Regions from separate parts of the Homo sapiens genome. Here regions 1, 2, 4, 5 and 6 are each linked to region 3. Evidence: promoter capture Hi-C in 16 types of primary human blood cells and fetal thymus (Javierre and others, 2016). All regions are on one chromosome and are shown on one strand. Each heading gives the region's core, a stretch centred on a gene start or on the middle of the fragment in contact. The rest is flanking DNA. Distances are from core to core; before and after follow the strand shown. Region 1 overlaps PHACTR2 (phosphatase and actin regulator 2). Region 2 overlaps PHACTR2 (phosphatase and actin regulator 2). Region 3 holds the start of LTV1 (LTV1 ribosome biogenesis factor). Region 4 has its middle 52 kb from the start of PHACTR2-AS1. Region 5 has its middle 34 kb from the start of PHACTR2-AS1. Region 6 has its middle 39 kb from the start of PHACTR2.

Region 1 (2,700 bases), core at 118-2,617, 150 kb before region 3:
TTCCTCTTATAAGAACCCCATTGGAGTAGGGCCCACCCATATGACCTCATTTTACCTTAATTTTACTTTTTTAAAGGACCTGTATTCAAATATGGTCCCATGTTGAGGTACTGGGAGTTAAGACTTTAACGTATGAATTTTGAGGGACACAATTCAGCCCATAGTAGTGTCCTTTTTTTGTTTTTGTTTTGTTTTTATTTTTTTGAGACGGAGTCTTACTCCATCACCCAGGCTGGAGTGCAGTGGTGTGATCTTGGCTCACTGCAACCTCCACTTCCCAGGTTCCAGCGGTTCTCCTGCCTCAGCCTCCCAAGTAGCTGGGACTACAGGCACGCACCACCACACCTGGCTAATTTTTGTATTTTTAGTAGAGACGGGGTTTCGCCCTGTTGGCCAGGCTGGTCTCGAAATCCTGACCTCAGGTGATCCACCTGCCTTGGCCTCCCAAAGTGCTGGGATTACAGGCATGAGCCACCGTGCCCAGCCCCTTTTTTCTGTATTTTTTAAATAGGCCATTTAAGGACTTTAAGCAATGTCCCTAAAACCAATGTACAAACCAGGACTTATTAGCAATGTCCCAAAGCACACTGCATCCATTGTCTTTTTTCTGATTTTTGAGTTTCATTTCTTAACCAATTAAGGCCTCTTCCCCACTCACCTCAACAGTGCCATATTCATATTACTTGAGTAAGAGGAGGCATTGAAGGTGATTTTCAGCAATGGAAATTAACCAGTGTGACTAGGCAGTACACTTAGGAAGTAAAGCATAGGCTGTAGAGCATATGGGGTAAATTTAGAAAATGGAATATGTGTTCATGACCAGCCTGGGCAATGTGGCGAAACCCGTCTATACAAAGAACAGAAAAAATTATGTGGGTGTGGTGGTGTGCACCTCTAGTCCCAGATACCCAAGAGTCCAAGATGGGAGGATCACCCGAACCCAGGAGATCAAGCCTGTGGTGATCCTTGATCACACCACTGCACTCCAGCCTGGGTGACAGACAGAGTGAGACCCTATCTTAAAGAAAAAGAAGGAAGGAGGGAAAGAAGGAAGGGAGGGAAGAAGGAAGGAAAGAAGGAAGGAAGGAAGGAAGGAAGGCCTGCGACAGGGAGTGGGGAGGGAAGGAAGGAGGGAGGGAGGGAGGAAAGGAAGGAGGAAGAAGTAGAAGGAGGAAGGAAAAAAGGAAGGAAGGGAGGGAAAGGAAAGGAAGGAAGAAAAAAGGAAATAAATAAAGAAAGAAATGGAATATGTGACATTATGTTTCTGCCATTGTGTAAGAAATCAATACCAGTATCTTGTGATTGGAGCACCAAATTGATCGAGTAATGTTCAGGAAAGAAACCCCCAAACTACTTATCAAGATCCTAATCCCAGTGTGGTCAGTAACTAATGTGGCCACCTGACTGGTTTTATAATCTTCTTTGAGGGCCCTGAATGTGAAGCCCTGTATTTGGAGAAATGTTTTGTTCTCAAATGTCACTACATATATAGTCTTCCTTTTCTGTGTTTGGTTTTGCTGGCTCTGTATGCTTTCATTGTCTTAGATGTGTTTGAAATCCGCAGGGTGACATGTCTCTTTTCAAAGAGCTGCTAAAATAAGAAAGAAAATGAATAAGCGTGTTAAAGAAAGATGGTGTTTAAACACCTGTCAAAGTAAAGTCAGAACAAGAATGTTCTTGCCAGAAAACGCAGAGCCCCATTGAGACAGGTTGGTAATTCGAAGATGATTCATTACGACTAACTGCATTTGTATTCTAGCCCATATGCATTGTAAACCACCTAGCAGGCTTCCAATGATGTCTTCCTATCAATTCGTAAATCTCACAGGAAACTTTTAACTGGTGCAGTCAGTTTTGGTGGACTGCTTATCTTGTCAACGTGAAGATAATGCTTCAACAGCACACCCACCTCCTCTAGGTTCAAAATTCCTTATTTTATTGAAAAAGGTCCCTCAAGCTGGTTAAGCACACAAATAAGAATTGGGTGCATCAGAATCTAGTGACCCTAGGTCCTTTTGTAAAATGATTAAAACTCTCCTTAAACCTCAGAAATTATTTAATTTTATAGGCATCTCTTGGACCAGGAATTGCCTTGAGATGGCGAGATACAAGCATTCTACAAAGGCTGCAAACAAGACTCACTTCTCTTAGGCCCTGATCCGAATCCAGATTATGATGGATTGGGCATGGGGATCAGGGCATGCAGAAGCTCTTAGCCAAACCTCTACACCCTTTAGTTGTGACTCTGTCATTGTAGACTTTTAAGGCATCTTGCAGATTAGAATATGCTGAGCACTCAATCTGAGGAAGGTTAAAAGTCATAGAATATTGGTGTTCTTCCAAGTTGAGAACAGAACACTTGGATCCAAGACCCTATTTCAGATTCAACATTCAATACCCTAAGGCATAAAAATGGCGTCTTACTATAGACAGTGGAAATAACTGATAAGGATTTAATTAATTGCTTGTGGTTTTGCAGTGCCAGTCCAGGTTTATTTTCATTGCTGGGCACTGCAGTCCTAGAGGCAAAGGGAATGAGCATAAGGTTCCTGCTAGATCTTTAAAAGGGAAGGGCAGAATAAACAGAGGGCCCTTTGATAATGATTTCTTAGCCAGTCCAGTGGATAACATGAGTCTCATAATCAAGAATCCTCTGGGACTTTGTCATCTACATTGAATTTATAGGTGGTCTTTACTTAA
Region 2 (2,700 bases), core at 79-2,578, 130 kb before region 3:
TATATGAAAGAAAAGTTTTGTTATATTTGATTTTAGATTTCTATCATATCCTTAGGACAAATAAATGGTCTCTGTCTTAAGAGAGTAGAGGCACAACCCTATTGGTGTGAAAATGTTTGATTGTTAATTTAGTTTGTAGATTTGTGAAACCTTAAAAGTTACATTGCTTAGTGCCTTTCATATCAACTCGTGGACAAAGCTGGCTTTAAATCTCAGGCCAGAATTCAGCCCAATTTAAACAAGTGTTAGTGTGAGTGTATTGTGTCTAAGATAGAAAAGTGTTTAGTAAGTTCAACGTTCCCCATGCTTACTGTCCAAGGCAATCCCTTCATCAAAATTCCTCACTGCACCACAGTCTAATATTGTTAGTGGATGTACAGGGTCACAGAGCATATCTTATTGGTCTGTACTAAGATAAGAACCAGAGTTTTGTTCTAGAGCTGTGAAATGAAATTAAAAATACTACACACAATGCAAGGATATGGAATAGGAGCATCAAAGCTCCCCAAAAAAGTGGTCTCGGATGCATTTGCAGCTATATAGTTTATTTGAGCATTTTATATTTAACAAGAAATAATGATAGGCTACCTGGAATTTGTTTCAAAATAATCCTGGAGGAGTGTGAGGTAGGTAAGATTATAGATAAAGGAAGACTGGCAATGGGTTGTTCAAGCTGGGCAATGGGTCCATGGTGGTTATTATTCTCATTTCTCTGCTTATAGATATTGGAAAATTTCTGTAATAAAAAGATAGAGAAAGAAGAGAAACTTGGCTTAAGGGAAAATAATGCTAGTTTGGTTATTGGGTCCTCTTCAGCACCTAAGTGGCTTTCTGGGTTAGGAGGCAGTGAGAGGTGAGGGACAGGGTGCTGTGCTGTGTGAGGACACCCGGCTGGGTGACTTTGAACAGGTCAGATCAGCCTCAGTTTTCTCGCCTGCAAAATCGGGTAGTTGAATGTGCTAAACTCGGAGGTGCTTCAGTTCCTGATTCTGTTGTTGGTCTCCAGAGACACCCTTACACCCTTGACTCCTTCCAGTCCCTGGCTGGGCATCTTGTTCTCCTCTGTTTTTTGGTTGTGGAAGGAACCTCACTGGCCTTCTTCAAGTGCCTCCCTCTCACATGTGCTTAAGCATTGGGAGAATCTGGCTCTTCACGTTACCAAGACTACCCAAGATGGGAGCAGGGCTCCAGACGTAACGTACGAAAACGAACATAAGATACAAAATGGTGTATCATACATTAGTTTTTTTCACATTGGAGAAAGATGTCATATCTAGAGGAAAACTGATATATTCAGTTGGTGCAAAAGTAGTTGCGATTTTTGCCATTACTTTTAGTGGCAAAAAACCGCAATTACTTTTGCACAAAACTAATATTTGGATATAACCAAGAGAAAGTTATTTTCTTCTTTAAAAAATTATCTCAAGCAGTGGAATCAAGCTGTTTGGATATGATCAGGGCCATTTGCTGTCTGATAATCAATGAAGTACACCTTAGGCCAGACCCACAACATCTTGAGGTATAAAAGAAAGTTCATTTCTTCCAAGAAAAGTAACTCTTCTACGTTTGTCCTTCTCTTAAACTCCTGGGTTGGTATTCACATGGATATGAACCTTATTGTGTTCTGCCGCACAGCGATAAATACCACTTTTCCTGGTATGGGTTTCTGTTATAGGAATTCTTAATTGGTAGTAGATAGGATGTAACACTAATTTATTAATGCATTGTAATAGCATGTTTATTATTGTAGTGGGAGTTAAGAAGGGTCCCATTCGTGGCCAGTTTTGGTGGTCCTTGAATCAGTTGTATTTTGGAGTGCTCATTCTACGTCTAAAGGACATCTTGCCCTATAAGGCAGGCTGGGCTTATGCCCCAGCTTCCAGTTCTCTGGCCTTGTTTTAAAGCAGAAAGTTTCCAATATCTTCAACTCTGATTTAGGCTGTTCAGTGTCTGGCTGTTAGATTCTAGGGCAGGAGAATAGATCTCTTTTCCGTCCACTTCTCTCAGATACCCCCCTTCATTTCTTTTCTTCTCCTGCATGAGAGGTCCCACGTAAGCTCTAGGTTCTTCTATCCCTTCCCTATTGTTAGAACTCAAAATGGCATTTACATCTTTTTTTCCCCTACATAATCATTTTTTCCCATTTTGCTTTGATTTGATTTGATTTGGTGGGAGGTGAGGATATAAACATCCTTCCTTTGGATTTTTATATATGCTTGTATCTCCCCAAAGCTAAGAGTACAAATGCCCTGCCTAAATAAACACAGTTGTTTCTCTAACTTATCACAGTGTATTACCATCAAAACCAAACTTACTGAAAATCTAACCTATCTCTGCTGCCTCTACTTTCTTTCTTCCCACATTCTCATTCCTTTTCCCACTGCAATCTATCTCTGTGTCCTGTATTCACCGAGGTTACTCCAAGCCTCCGAACCATTAAATTTAGTGTCGTTCTCTTATTTTCATTCATTTCAACCTCTACAACATTTTCCATTACTGAACAGTCAGTCCTGCCTTAATGTCCAAAATACCTCTTCCTTAATTTACAAAAGCTACCATTGTCTTGTTTGTCTTTGACTTCTCTTTCTCTCTTTTGCCTTTTCTCTTCTTCTTCTCATCACCCCTAACCCCCAGCAGGAAGGTTGCTATGTGCCTTAGCCCTTCTGTTGCTTTGAATATGCACTTCTTTCCTATACCCAC
Region 3 (2,700 bases), core at 94-2,593:
CTGATTGAAAGGAAATGAAAACTGCCCCCTTGGATCTTTTAATTCTATATAATGAATAATAACAACGAATCTCTGGCACATAGGAGTGCTATGTATTATCTCTGTTACAAAGCAATATCCTAAGACAAGTTTTATGGTCCTAACCTAAATTATTTCTATATATATATATTTTTGAGACAGAGTTTCGCTCTTGTCGCCCAGGCTGGAGTGCAATGGCATGATCTCAGCTCACTGCAACCTCTGCCTCCCGGGTTCAAGCTATTCTCCTGCCTCAACCTCCCAAGTAGTTGGGATTACAGGCACCTGCCATCACACCTGGCTAAGTTTTGTATTTTTAGTAGAGACGGGGTTTCACCACGTTGGCTAGTCTGGTCTTGAACTCCTGACCTCAGGTGATCCACCCGCTTCGGCCTCCCAAAGTGCTGGGATGACAGACATGAGCCACCGCGCCTGGCCTATTTCTATAATTTTTACTGTAATAAAAGAATAATACTCCACAAATACTTACAGTGATAATGCCTACGGCATAAAGACACAATCCAGGGTAAGCCATTCATTGAGAGGTCACCAGAAACTGGGAAGTTGGGGAAACAAATTTGAAAAAAAGGTCTGCTGATGAAAGTGACTGCATTTACCACACACTTTCGTCCAAGAAAAGCTATGTGAGTACGCCAACGCCGGCCTGAAATCTTCCTAAGAATGCGTGCTTATAGCCTATTTGTTTAAACAGGGGGAGAAAGTTAACATTCAAACACCAGAGATTCTGAATATATTTTATTAGTTCAAATGCCTCTACAGTTAACAGAGTCTCGGGGGTTTGGTTAACAGGGCAGATGAAAGCAGTTCATGAAACAGTGGAAAATATAACCTGATCAAGTCTGATGCAGTCTATAAAGGCAAGGCCCCAGCCTCCGTTGCTACGGCAACCGACTCCGCCCCCACCCGGAGAGGGAACCTGAAACTTGGCGACCCCAGCACCCCAGCGGGGTGGTCGCCTCCCTTCCGTGTCCGCGGCTTTGTTTTTTATGGTTGGGAATAGGTAAGGGACACAAGTCAAGGGGGATGCTAGATTCGTCCCCTCTGGTCTCCGTAGAGGGAGCTATAAAAGGTTCGTCCACAAGCAGAAACCCCTCTGTGGCGCCTCAACGTTAAGGACCCCCACGATTCCCTTTGCCCGGCGGGAGACTAAAGGCCGGAAAAGTACAGCCCGCCCAGGGGTGGGAGCCGAGCTAGCCCCACCTCCCGGTGGCTTCTCGCGATCGTGGAGACGCAGCGAGCCTATGTAACTTCCGGTCGCGACCCATCAGCTCCTCGGCGATTGGTCCGTTTCCACGGCCGGCTGGGTGACGTTATCGCCGGGTCCTGGGGCTGCACGTGTGGTGAGGCCTACAGAAGCGGCCTTCAGCTGGACCTTGGTCTCCCCGCCGGACTTCGAGGGTGTCATCGCCGCCCCTGTTGGGGGTGAGCGCCGCGCGGCTGCAGCATGGTGAGCAAGCCTTGCTTGTTTCGGCGGCCGAGCGCTGTGGTTTTGCAGAGGCCAGGCTGCTTCCGGTAATACCTTGGCTACTGCGGCCCGGGTCTGGGTCATGCCAGAGGCTGCTTGCGGCACGGTACCCCGAAATGGGCCAACGTCACCACCGTGGGCATTCTTTGCAAGTTACAGTCTCCCACCGCCGAGCCTCCCTGGGATGTGGCCCGGAGAGGAGAATGGCCTTTTTGTTTTATCCCTGGGAGCCTGCAGCCCTGCGTGATTTCGGTTAACTAAAAGCTGGTGACTGCCGACACAAACGCGCAACCCTGTGCTTCTTGGGGTCGAGCAGAGGGAGCTGCTGGTCTCCCTCAGCGTTGGAGTGGCAGGTGTCTGCCTGTCTGTTTCCTCTGAGAAAGGGAACTTGTGGGAGAGCATAAGGTTGGGCCCAAAGTAAAGCCACTTAATTGGTTTCCCAGTTTAGAGAATCAAAATTGAATAGCGAAGTAAGAATGTAGAAAGAGGTGATGGATCTTATTAAACTTTAGCTGTTTGTGTCGTGATTTTATTTACTGGTTGGTAGATGCTCTGTGTGGAGCTGTCTACTCCAGATTATGTTGTGGCAGGCTTCTTGTCATTCTAGTTCAGTCGGCCAGGGGCCTTCCCTGAGCAGCCAGTGTAAAGTAGCTTTTAAGGCATTTTCACGTCACTGTCTTATATTTTCTTCACCGGAAATTATCTTGATTTTCTTGCTAAGAACAGGGACTTTATCTGACTTTCCCACTTCTGTATTCTCAGTTCCCATAACAAGGTCTGGCACAAAGTAGGTGCTCAAGGAATGTTTGTTGAAGGAAGGTTAAGTATGGATTCTGCAGAACACAGCTGATGTTGCCTGCCCTAGAAGTGTAGATTTTTAAAAAGTATCTTTAACATGACTACTAAAGATGCATGTGTGGACTATGGAATTATTCTCCGTCTTTTTGTTCTGTTTTAATTAATTGTTGTGATTTTGTTCCTTTGAAGCCTCACAGGAAGAAAAAGCCCTTTATAGAGAAGAAGAAAGCTGTGTCTTTTCACTTGGTCCACCGGAGCCAACGAGATCCTTTAGCAGCAGATGAGAGTGCACCCCAGAGGGTTCTATTGCCCACACAAAAAGTAGGTCCTGTTCTTTAGCCAGTCAGTTTGTAGGTAGACAATAGTTTTTTTTTTCTTTTTTTTTTTTTAAATAAATA
Region 4 (2,700 bases), core at 161-2,660, 220 kb before region 3:
GGGGATAAAAGGAAATATAGCCAGTCCCAAACTTTGACAGCGGTCAGTATGGTATAAAGAGTGAAAATATCTTAGGTCCCCTGTGTGAGATTCTATAGTCTTCACAGCGCCGATCATGCTTGCTTGTGGTACTTACAGAACATGTCACTCGGTCGGGGGTGGGGGGTCAGTTCATTTGTTCAAACAGTAAGCATTTCACAACATTCATTAACCTTAGGGTCACTTTTTTAAGTTAAGGAAGTTCAAAGACATTTGTTTAAATAACTGTATGACTGTGACGATAGTTGAAAAAAGCCAGATAGTTGAAAATTAAAGCCAACTTTGTTTTTAAAATCCAGACTTCGTGGAAAACCAGGAGCTCTGTAGCATACATTTAGAATAAAGCTCCAGCTTTAACTTCTAAATATCCTGGCTTATGTCAGTCTTTTTGTCACAGCCCTAATGCTCCATAAACAAAGGTGTCTCTTATACTAACAGATGTGGGCTTTGTCTTTAGCTGTCTCAGGGAAGGTTTTCATGGAACCTCGAAACTACAAAAACTCCCAAAGTACCCTTGAGCACCTGGGTTACTGTAAAACAAAATCATGTCCCAGAAAATTATGTTTTCAATGCAGGGCTAGTAAGAAATGAAGTTTTTTTTTTTTGGAAAAAAAAAATGCTGTACATACTTCACCAAATTCCTCTCATCTTCAAAAATGCTTACAAATATAGCTTGTTTCTCACAGTTCTCCGGTGAATTATGTAAATACTTCAAATCATCAGTTCTGCTTTTATAGATATGAAACTAAGGCAGAGAAGTTTATTTATTTATTTTTTCAGACAGCAGCCTCATGCACAGCTTAACTGCACATAAAAAATGTTGCCCTGACATATAAAATCCATGTCTGCTTGAGTATATGCTTGGCCATCGGCCAACCCACAAGGCATAGGCCATGCCAAATGTGATTTCCATTGGCTTTTATGCAGGGGGAAAGCCAGGCACAGTTTACCCTTTGGGACGCATGCAATATTGTTTTTAGGGAAATGTGGTTGTATTTGCCCTGGCCTCAAAGGCTGTCTCACTGGAGGACAGGCTTTGGTCACAGTTTTGGTCACAAAACACAACTGTCCCCATCAGCTATGTTGAAGCTCTCTGTACTAGGATATGCAACCAGGTGATCAGGGACTGGAAATCAGCTGGAAATTCCAATAGAGGCTCATTAATTAGTGGAGCCCACATATGCAGGGCATATACTTATATGGCAGGTGGGCAGCAGATGGGGGACAGTGCAAACCTCCAGGAAAAGAACAAGAGCAGGATCATTAAAGAAGCCTTAGCATTTTCACACAGAGACTGAGCTTGGAAATCCAGTTTCAGAGAAGGGATTGGAGGATTGGGTAGGGAATGTGGACAGATTATAGGGAGAGACCAAGGTAGACACCTGGCTTATGAAACGGGTCTACAGAAAACATCAGGAGGCCCCCACAGGTTTCATTCTGGCTTCTTCAATTTGGTGTGAATTGACAACAAAGAAAACTCAGGAGGGCGCGAATGAGTTCCTGTGGATCCCGAGCCCTCTCAGGCCTCCTCGGTGCAGAAGGGCAAATCCTTCCCATAGTTCCTGCCTCTCTCTCTAGAGTAGCACAGGACTTGGGAAGCCAGCAGCTACAAGGAAGCTCACCTGTCAAGCACCAACGCTTTATTTTAATTGGTATTTTGCATGAGAATCATTAAATTGCAACTCTTTCTTATATTTAATCACATTTACTGGCTTTCTCAAATTGAACATACCCCAACCCTTGAATAGTGTGGGATTGTGCAAAGGAATGGAATTAGAGTTGTAAAAGAAGAATGCAGTTCCTGGCTGAGCCTGTTCTACCTGCTGGTATGGGGCCTTGGGCATATCCATGAGCCTCACTTTCCTCATCTGTAGTTTAGGGTTGATTGTACTTGGCTTGAGTAGTAAGTATTATGTAACATAGATTCATTTTGCACCTACGTGGACTTTAAATCTTTGCGAACAGTAGCTCATTTCTTCCTCTCAGCTACCTCCCAAGGTGATCACTTGGCCCCAGGTCCCCCTGCTCTGGCTCCCTGAGTTCCTGCCTTGCTCACCTCTCACATTTTGCTGTTGTGCACTTGCTTCTGGCAGCTCCCATCTCCCTCCTTCTAATCTGCTGTTTTCTTCTTTTTGTGTGTGTGGTCTGGGAAACCAAATAATCAAGAGTGTTATCCTTTTGTTCAAAATGATAGTACACAGACCCCACTGAGGCCTTGGGCAGTGTATGATTCACTTGTGTGGGCTGGAGTTTGTGAATTTTTTACATTTATTCGGGCCGAGTTGCAGTTCGGTTGATTTCCTGGTTCTTGACATAATGGAGGTGGACAGCTAGGTTATATCTTTTAATGTTTCCTCATCATCCAATTTAGAAATCTCCAGAGATCCTGCCCAAACCTCAGGATAAAATTCAAGCCCAAAACGTCACACAAGGCCCCTGTGTCACCAGCACTGTCACCACCTCTGGTCATGTAGTCCTAGGTCCCAGCTCCCCAGACTCTTCCTCTCATCCCAAGTACTGTGTGTTCCTGCTGCTTTGCTTGGCAATGTGCTGTTCTCCTCGCGTACATCTGGTCTCCCCACTGGCCAGGAAACTGCTCAAGGGCAATGTTACCTTACCGTTGGTTTCCTTAGTCCTACCCCAGATGTGGCACACAGTAAG
Region 5 (2,700 bases), core at 117-2,616, 240 kb before region 3:
TTTGTGGTTTTAATTTTTAAAAAATTTTTAATTATTATTGATACATAATAGTTATACATATGGGTTACATCTGATATTTTGATGCAATCATACAACTTGTAATGACCAAATCAAGGTAATGGAGATATTCATTGCCTCAAGCATTTATCATTTTTTATGTTAGGAACATTCCAATTCCACTCTTTTAGTTATTTTGAAATATAAAATACGATTGTTAACTATAGTCACCTCATTGTGCTGCCTAACATTAGTTCCTTTAGTTTTGTTTTCACTCTCGCTCTCCCCCTCCCTAATAGTTTTATGGTTTTGAAGTCATCTCCACCTTGTCCCTCTAACCTTCCCATCTAGTCAGGTTTTCTAATGACATCTTGAGGAAATTTCTGCTCAATTTTGAGGGCATACTGCCGATCCAGTATTTAGGGACCCACGTGAAGCTTAGTTAATTATTGATTATGAAGACTTATCCTCTCCCTGCCCCTCAAGGCTTTATAAAGCCATGGCTCCTGGAACTAAGGCATCAGCCATTTGTTTTTCCAACCTCATTTCTTGAGCCAGGACTCTCCATTCAAGCAGAGCCTGGCTCTGATTGCTCCTTTCTCATGTGGAGCTCTTTTAGAGCCATTACTACATAGGAGCTGCGCATCTGGCCTTGACCTCTGCTTTTGTCCCTTGGGTACAGCAGGACATTGCAGAAACCTCACCCACAGCCTTCAGCTTTTGGCTCCCTGCTCATTCATCGAAATGGTCAGCTAGCTTCTTGTGCCTAGCTGTGATTTACCTATTTAATATTTTATCTATCATTGCTATGTGTTTGGAGCAGTGGGGTGTTGTCCAAGTGTGGATTCACCAAACCACCTTGGCCAAAAGTCCAAACTTGTCGGAAGACTGTGTCTGATGGATGTTGCCTTATGTAAGGTCCAGACACCAGGCAATCTGGATGTGCAGAAAAGTTTCACAGCCTCTGCATTAAGATGGTAAAGAGGGTAAGTGTGGGCTGGGCACAGTGGCTCATGCCTGTAACCCCAGCACTTTGGGAGGCCGAGGTGGGCAGATCACCCGTGGTCAGGAGTTTGAGACCAGCCTGGCCAACATGGCAAAACCCCGTCTCTACTAAAAATACAAAAACTAGCCAGACATGGTGGTGCATGCCTGTAATCCCAGCTACTCAGGAGGCTGAGACAGGAGAACTGCTAGAATCCATGAGACGGAGGCTGCAGTGAGCCAAGATTGCACCACTGCACTCTAGCCTGGGTGACAAGAGCAAGACTCTGTCTCAAAAAAAAAAAAAAAAAAAAAATACTTGGAAGTAGCTAAACTAATTGAAGACATTTAAAAATGTCTTTACCTCCAACAATTTGCTGTTAAAAAATTATTCGATGACACTTGTTCAAGCACGGTAAGGCAGGTTTTATTTGGGACCATTGCAATAGGTATAGGGACCACTGCCATGGGATTTTGCAGTCGGGGAGAGGGATTGGACTCAACTTTGAATATAACAGGGAAAAAAATTATAGCCAAGGAGCAGTGTATGTTGCTCTGCCTTAAAAAAAAAAAAAGAGGTATCAGGCACACTCCAAGGACCATGAATAAGGGAAGAGAAGCAAACGTTATCCAGAAATTCAGGAGACCCCTCCCCACACCTTACATCAGAAGAGAAACCTCAAAAGGAGAATAGTTAGGCAGAATAGAAAACAGTCATGTCAAATAGCATTGGCCTAAAATCCACATAGTAGAACATTGGATAAATGTATAATCTTTCTTGCCCAGATCTTCCTGGAAACACTATCTGTTGCAAAACTTTCTCCTATCAACTGTTTTTGGTTAATAGTTCAGGGATTTGGTTTAGTACCTTGGAGAGCTATATATCCAAGCATTTTGCTTGTCAAAACTATTTGATAGCTGTATTTGTAAAAGCAGTGGCTCAAATGTTTTTAGAAGAGATTTTCAGCTGGGTGGGGTGGCTCATGCCTGTAATCCCAGCACTTTGAGAGACCGAGGTGGGTGGATCACTTGAGGTCAGGAGTTCAAGACAACCTGGCCAACATGGTGAAACACTGTCTCTACTAAAAATACAAAAAGTTACCTGGGCATGGTGACAGGTGCCTGTAACCCCAGCTATCCAGGAACTGAGGCTCGAGAATCACTTGAACCCGGGAGGCAGAGGTTGCAGTGAGCCGAGATCATGCCACTGCACTCCAGCCTGGTGACAGAGAGAGACTCTGATTCAAAAAAAAAAAAAAAAAAGAGAAAAGAAAAGAAGACACTTTCAGTAGAATATGTTCCAAAATGAATAGGGAGCAAGCTTTCTCATTGGTAGTCAATGTTCTGATTCTTTGGATGAATCAGAAACTCAAAAGGTTGAAATAGTCAGATAGGCCCATTTGAGTATCCAAGAGATCTACTGGACCAAGCAATCTAATTACGTGGACAGTTTACTCTTTTACTTCTCCATCCTGAGAAACAGAGCCTGATCTTGTAAGAAAGGATTCCAATTCATCCTCTAAAAGTAAAACTATGTTCTTTTTAGCCTGTGATTTTGGAGTCTCTCTGCCCCTTGGAGTGGTGTTTCTGCTCTTTTTCTCCATAGAATCCATCTGAACTGGCCTTTATCCCCCTGGGCTCGAATTTCAGTTAGGAAAGGCAGAGTATTATTGCCACCTATTGCCATCAGTTCTTCTCTGTGCTTCCAATAAGTGAGAG
Region 6 (2,700 bases), core at 95-2,594, 200 kb before region 3:
TAACAAATTATCACAAATTTAGCAGCTTAACACAACACATATTAACTATGTCACAGCTTGTATGGGTCAGGAGTTCAGGCACAACTTAGCTGGGTCTTCTGCAAGGCTACACTTTAGGTGTTGGGCAGGACACAGTCCTCATGTGGAGGCTTGACTGGGGAAAAGGGACTGGTCCCATGTTAGCAGAGTCAGTTCTTTGCAGCTGCAGCACTCATGGCAGCTTGCTTCTTCAAAGCCAGCAAGGAGAGCAAGGCTCTAATGCAAATCTGCTGTAGCAATGGGAGTCTTTTATAACATAATACAATCACAGGAGAAACATCCCTTCGCCTTTGGCAAACGTGATAACATAGTCATGGGAGTGACATCCCGTCACCTTTGCTATGTTCTAGTTGTTAGAAACAAGACACAGGTCCCACCCATACTTAAAGGGAGAGGATTACACAAAGGCTTGAACACCAGGAGGCAGTGATCATGGGGGGATCATCTAAGTGTCAGTCCACCACAAAGCTTTCATGTCAATTTCAAACAAAAGCAATAGCATTTCTGGTAAAAACAATCTAATGATTCCAGAGCAAGGTTACAATAATATTTTTAGTGTGTAGTTGATGAATTATTTCAGTAAATATAGACAGAAACCACAAATACTAAGGTCTTCCTTGTAGCAAATAGAGACTTAAGTTATAGTATTGCTGAGAGCTTGATTGGCAGTTACAAATTCAGTGATCGCTATGGCTTAAAAAGAAGCAGAGGAATGCCAGGTGCAGTGGCTCATGCCTATCATCCCAGCACTTTGGGAAGCCAAGGTGGGAGGATCACTTTAGGCCAGGAGTTTGAAACCAGCCTGGGCAACATAGCAAGACCCCGTCTATACAAAAATAATAATTAAAAGATTAGCTGGGCATGGTGGTGCATGCCCATAGTCCCAGCTACTCAGGAGGCTGAGATGGGAGGATTGCTTGAGCCCAGGAGTTCAAGGCTGCAGTGACTATGATCATACCACTGCACTCCAGCCTGGGCCACAGAGCAAGACCTTGTCTCAAAAAAAAAAAAAAGTATTACACACACACACATACACACACACACACACACACACACCCAGCTATCCAAGTTTTGAGCTAATTTTTCATTTTATATTAAGCATTAAACACCCCAAATGTATATTTGCTTAAGAAAAAATGCTAAATACATACTTTTAAAAAAGGGCAGTGAAGTTAGAAGATGAATGTTAGCAGGCAGATTCATCATACTTTTCCTTCAAATATTTTAAGAATAGTAAATCCACAGACAATGCTTCTTGCATATAGGGAAGTACATGTGTCTTGTCCATTGCTCTTTCTAGCAATATAGATAAATTCCTTTGTTCTACTCTGTCAATTTTCCTGCCCAATTGCATATTTGTCCTTAATAATCAGTAGTTTACAAAATTTATTCTGTCTAAAAATTGTAATTTAGAGTGTTCGTAGCTTCCCCAAAACTATGAATGACATTATCTCCTTAATGATCATTTTCTCTTTGCCCAGTTGTCAGGCAATAAAATTATTCAGTGTAGCATCAAAAGCCTCAGCCAAGGGCTGATAAAGTCAGATGAATCTACATACTTATGCATAATTTTTTAACAGTGTCCAATATTCTTCTGAATTATTTTTGAATCATTACATCTTTCTGCTTTCATGAGCCACCAATGACATGCTTCATAAAATGACAATTGCTGCAAAGTACCTGAAGTACAGTCTGTCTTTCCAAAACAAATTAATGGTAAGATATACCTATAGCAATGTAATGTTGTAAAACAAATGTAACAGAACTTTATATAGTGATTTAATCTTTAAATCACGTTGGGAGTTAGTGTTTATGCCATCAAGGCTATCATTGCTCAAAACATTTCAAAAATTACTAAGTGAAAGCATATTCAGAGCCATTTTATAAGTGACACAAGCAAAATAATTCTTATTTTTAATTCACACTTTTGTTTTCTGCTTATGTAGATCACCTATTTTTACTTTTGGCATCTAGATGACATTTGGCCCATTCAAAAAGAATTAATTGTGCTGGGGAAAAGTCTTTAGGTTTGGGAGTGAGAAAGCCTGATTATAGCGGGAGGGATTACTAACTCTCCCTTTGATGATGGATTAGCATACCCCATCATGAGTAAGGATAGCGATGGTTTGAGCAAGACAGTTGACAAGCTTGATGTAATTGATCAAGAACTCTGCACACAACAAGTAGATATTCATTCCTCTTAGGCAAATATGAAACATACACAAATATTGACTATTTACACAGTCACAAAAGAAGTTTTAAGAACCACTGAAGGGTGATTTGATTTGCATTACATTTTCTCACTGTAGTGCAATGAAATTAGAAGTCAACATAACTACTCTAAAGATAATGTGTTCTGGTTCCTAGCCTCCAGAAGCTGGAGGAAGCAAGGAATAACAACTTGTTATTAATAGAGTCATGTGCTACATAATGATGTTTCTGCCAACAGTGGGCCACATATATGATGGTAATTCTGTGTAACTGTAATAGAGTTGAAGAATTCCTATAACCTAGTGATGTCACAGTTGTTGTGCTGTCATAGTGCAAATGCTTTACTCACAAGTTTGTGCTGATGCTGGTGTAAACAAACCTACTGCACTGCCAGTTGTATATAAGTGTAGCACATATAATTATGTACAGTGCATAATGCTTGATAATGAC

The links. Contacts are between HindIII fragments. The CHiCAGO score rates a contact against its expected background, and 5 or more counts as called.
Region 1: a contact is called between a fragment that was not itself captured here and the fragment with the promoter of LTV1 in region 3, in 1 of 17 cell types (erythroblasts). The highest score is 5.3, in erythroblasts.
Region 2: a contact is called between a fragment that was not itself captured here and the fragment with the promoter of LTV1 in region 3, in 1 of 17 cell types (erythroblasts). The highest score is 5.3, in erythroblasts.
Region 4: a contact is called between a fragment that was not itself captured here and the fragment with the promoter of LTV1 in region 3, in 2 of 17 cell types (erythroblasts and M1 macrophages). The highest score is 7.1, in erythroblasts.
Region 5: a fragment that was not itself captured here is called in contact with the fragment with the promoter of LTV1 in region 3 in 4 of 17 cell types (erythroblasts, megakaryocytes, M2 macrophages and 1 more); the score reaches 7.2 in erythroblasts.
Region 6: a fragment that was not itself captured here is called in contact with the fragment with the promoter of LTV1 in region 3 in 2 of 17 cell types (megakaryocytes and erythroblasts); the score reaches 6.2 in megakaryocytes.

Annotation. Positions count from the first base shown.
Region 1 is chr6:143,693,052-143,695,751 of GRCh38, forward strand. The region is part of intron 1 of PHACTR2 (phosphatase and actin regulator 2); the gene reads left to right. Among named protein-coding and RNA genes, the nearest start is that of PHACTR2, 16 kb to the left of the region's middle. The HindIII fragment of the contact is 4,723 bases long and covers 1-2,700 here.
Region 2 is chr6:143,712,710-143,715,409 of GRCh38, forward strand. All of the region lies in intron 2 of PHACTR2 (phosphatase and actin regulator 2), which reads left to right. Among named protein-coding and RNA genes, the nearest start is that of PHACTR2, 36 kb to the left of the region's middle. The HindIII fragment of the contact is 4,013 bases long and covers 1-2,700 here.
Region 3 is chr6:143,841,995-143,844,694 of GRCh38, forward strand. It overlaps LTV1 (LTV1 ribosome biogenesis factor), which reads left to right and starts at 1,344. Exons shown (of 11, transcript NM_032860.5): 1 at 1,344-1,486; 2 at 2,492-2,623. The coding sequence starts at 1,484. RefSeq lists enhancers at 1,148-1,197, 1,378-1,587, 1,778-1,847. The HindIII fragment of the contact is 13,446 bases long and covers 1-2,700 here.
Region 4 is chr6:143,619,800-143,622,499 of GRCh38, forward strand. It overlaps a transcript of PHACTR2 not described here. Among named protein-coding and RNA genes, the nearest start is that of PHACTR2-AS1, 52 kb to the left of the region's middle. The HindIII fragment of the contact is 8,835 bases long and covers 1-2,700 here.
Region 5 is chr6:143,601,871-143,604,570 of GRCh38, forward strand. It overlaps a transcript of PHACTR2 not described here. Among named protein-coding and RNA genes, the nearest start is that of PHACTR2-AS1, 34 kb to the left of the region's middle. RefSeq lists a silencer at 1,708-1,908. The HindIII fragment of the contact is 1,868 bases long and covers 433-2,300 here.
Region 6 is chr6:143,637,506-143,640,205 of GRCh38, forward strand. It overlaps a transcript of PHACTR2 not described here. Among named protein-coding and RNA genes, the nearest start is that of PHACTR2, 39 kb to the right of the region's middle. RefSeq lists an enhancer at 60-603. The HindIII fragment of the contact is 1,679 bases long and covers 506-2,184 here.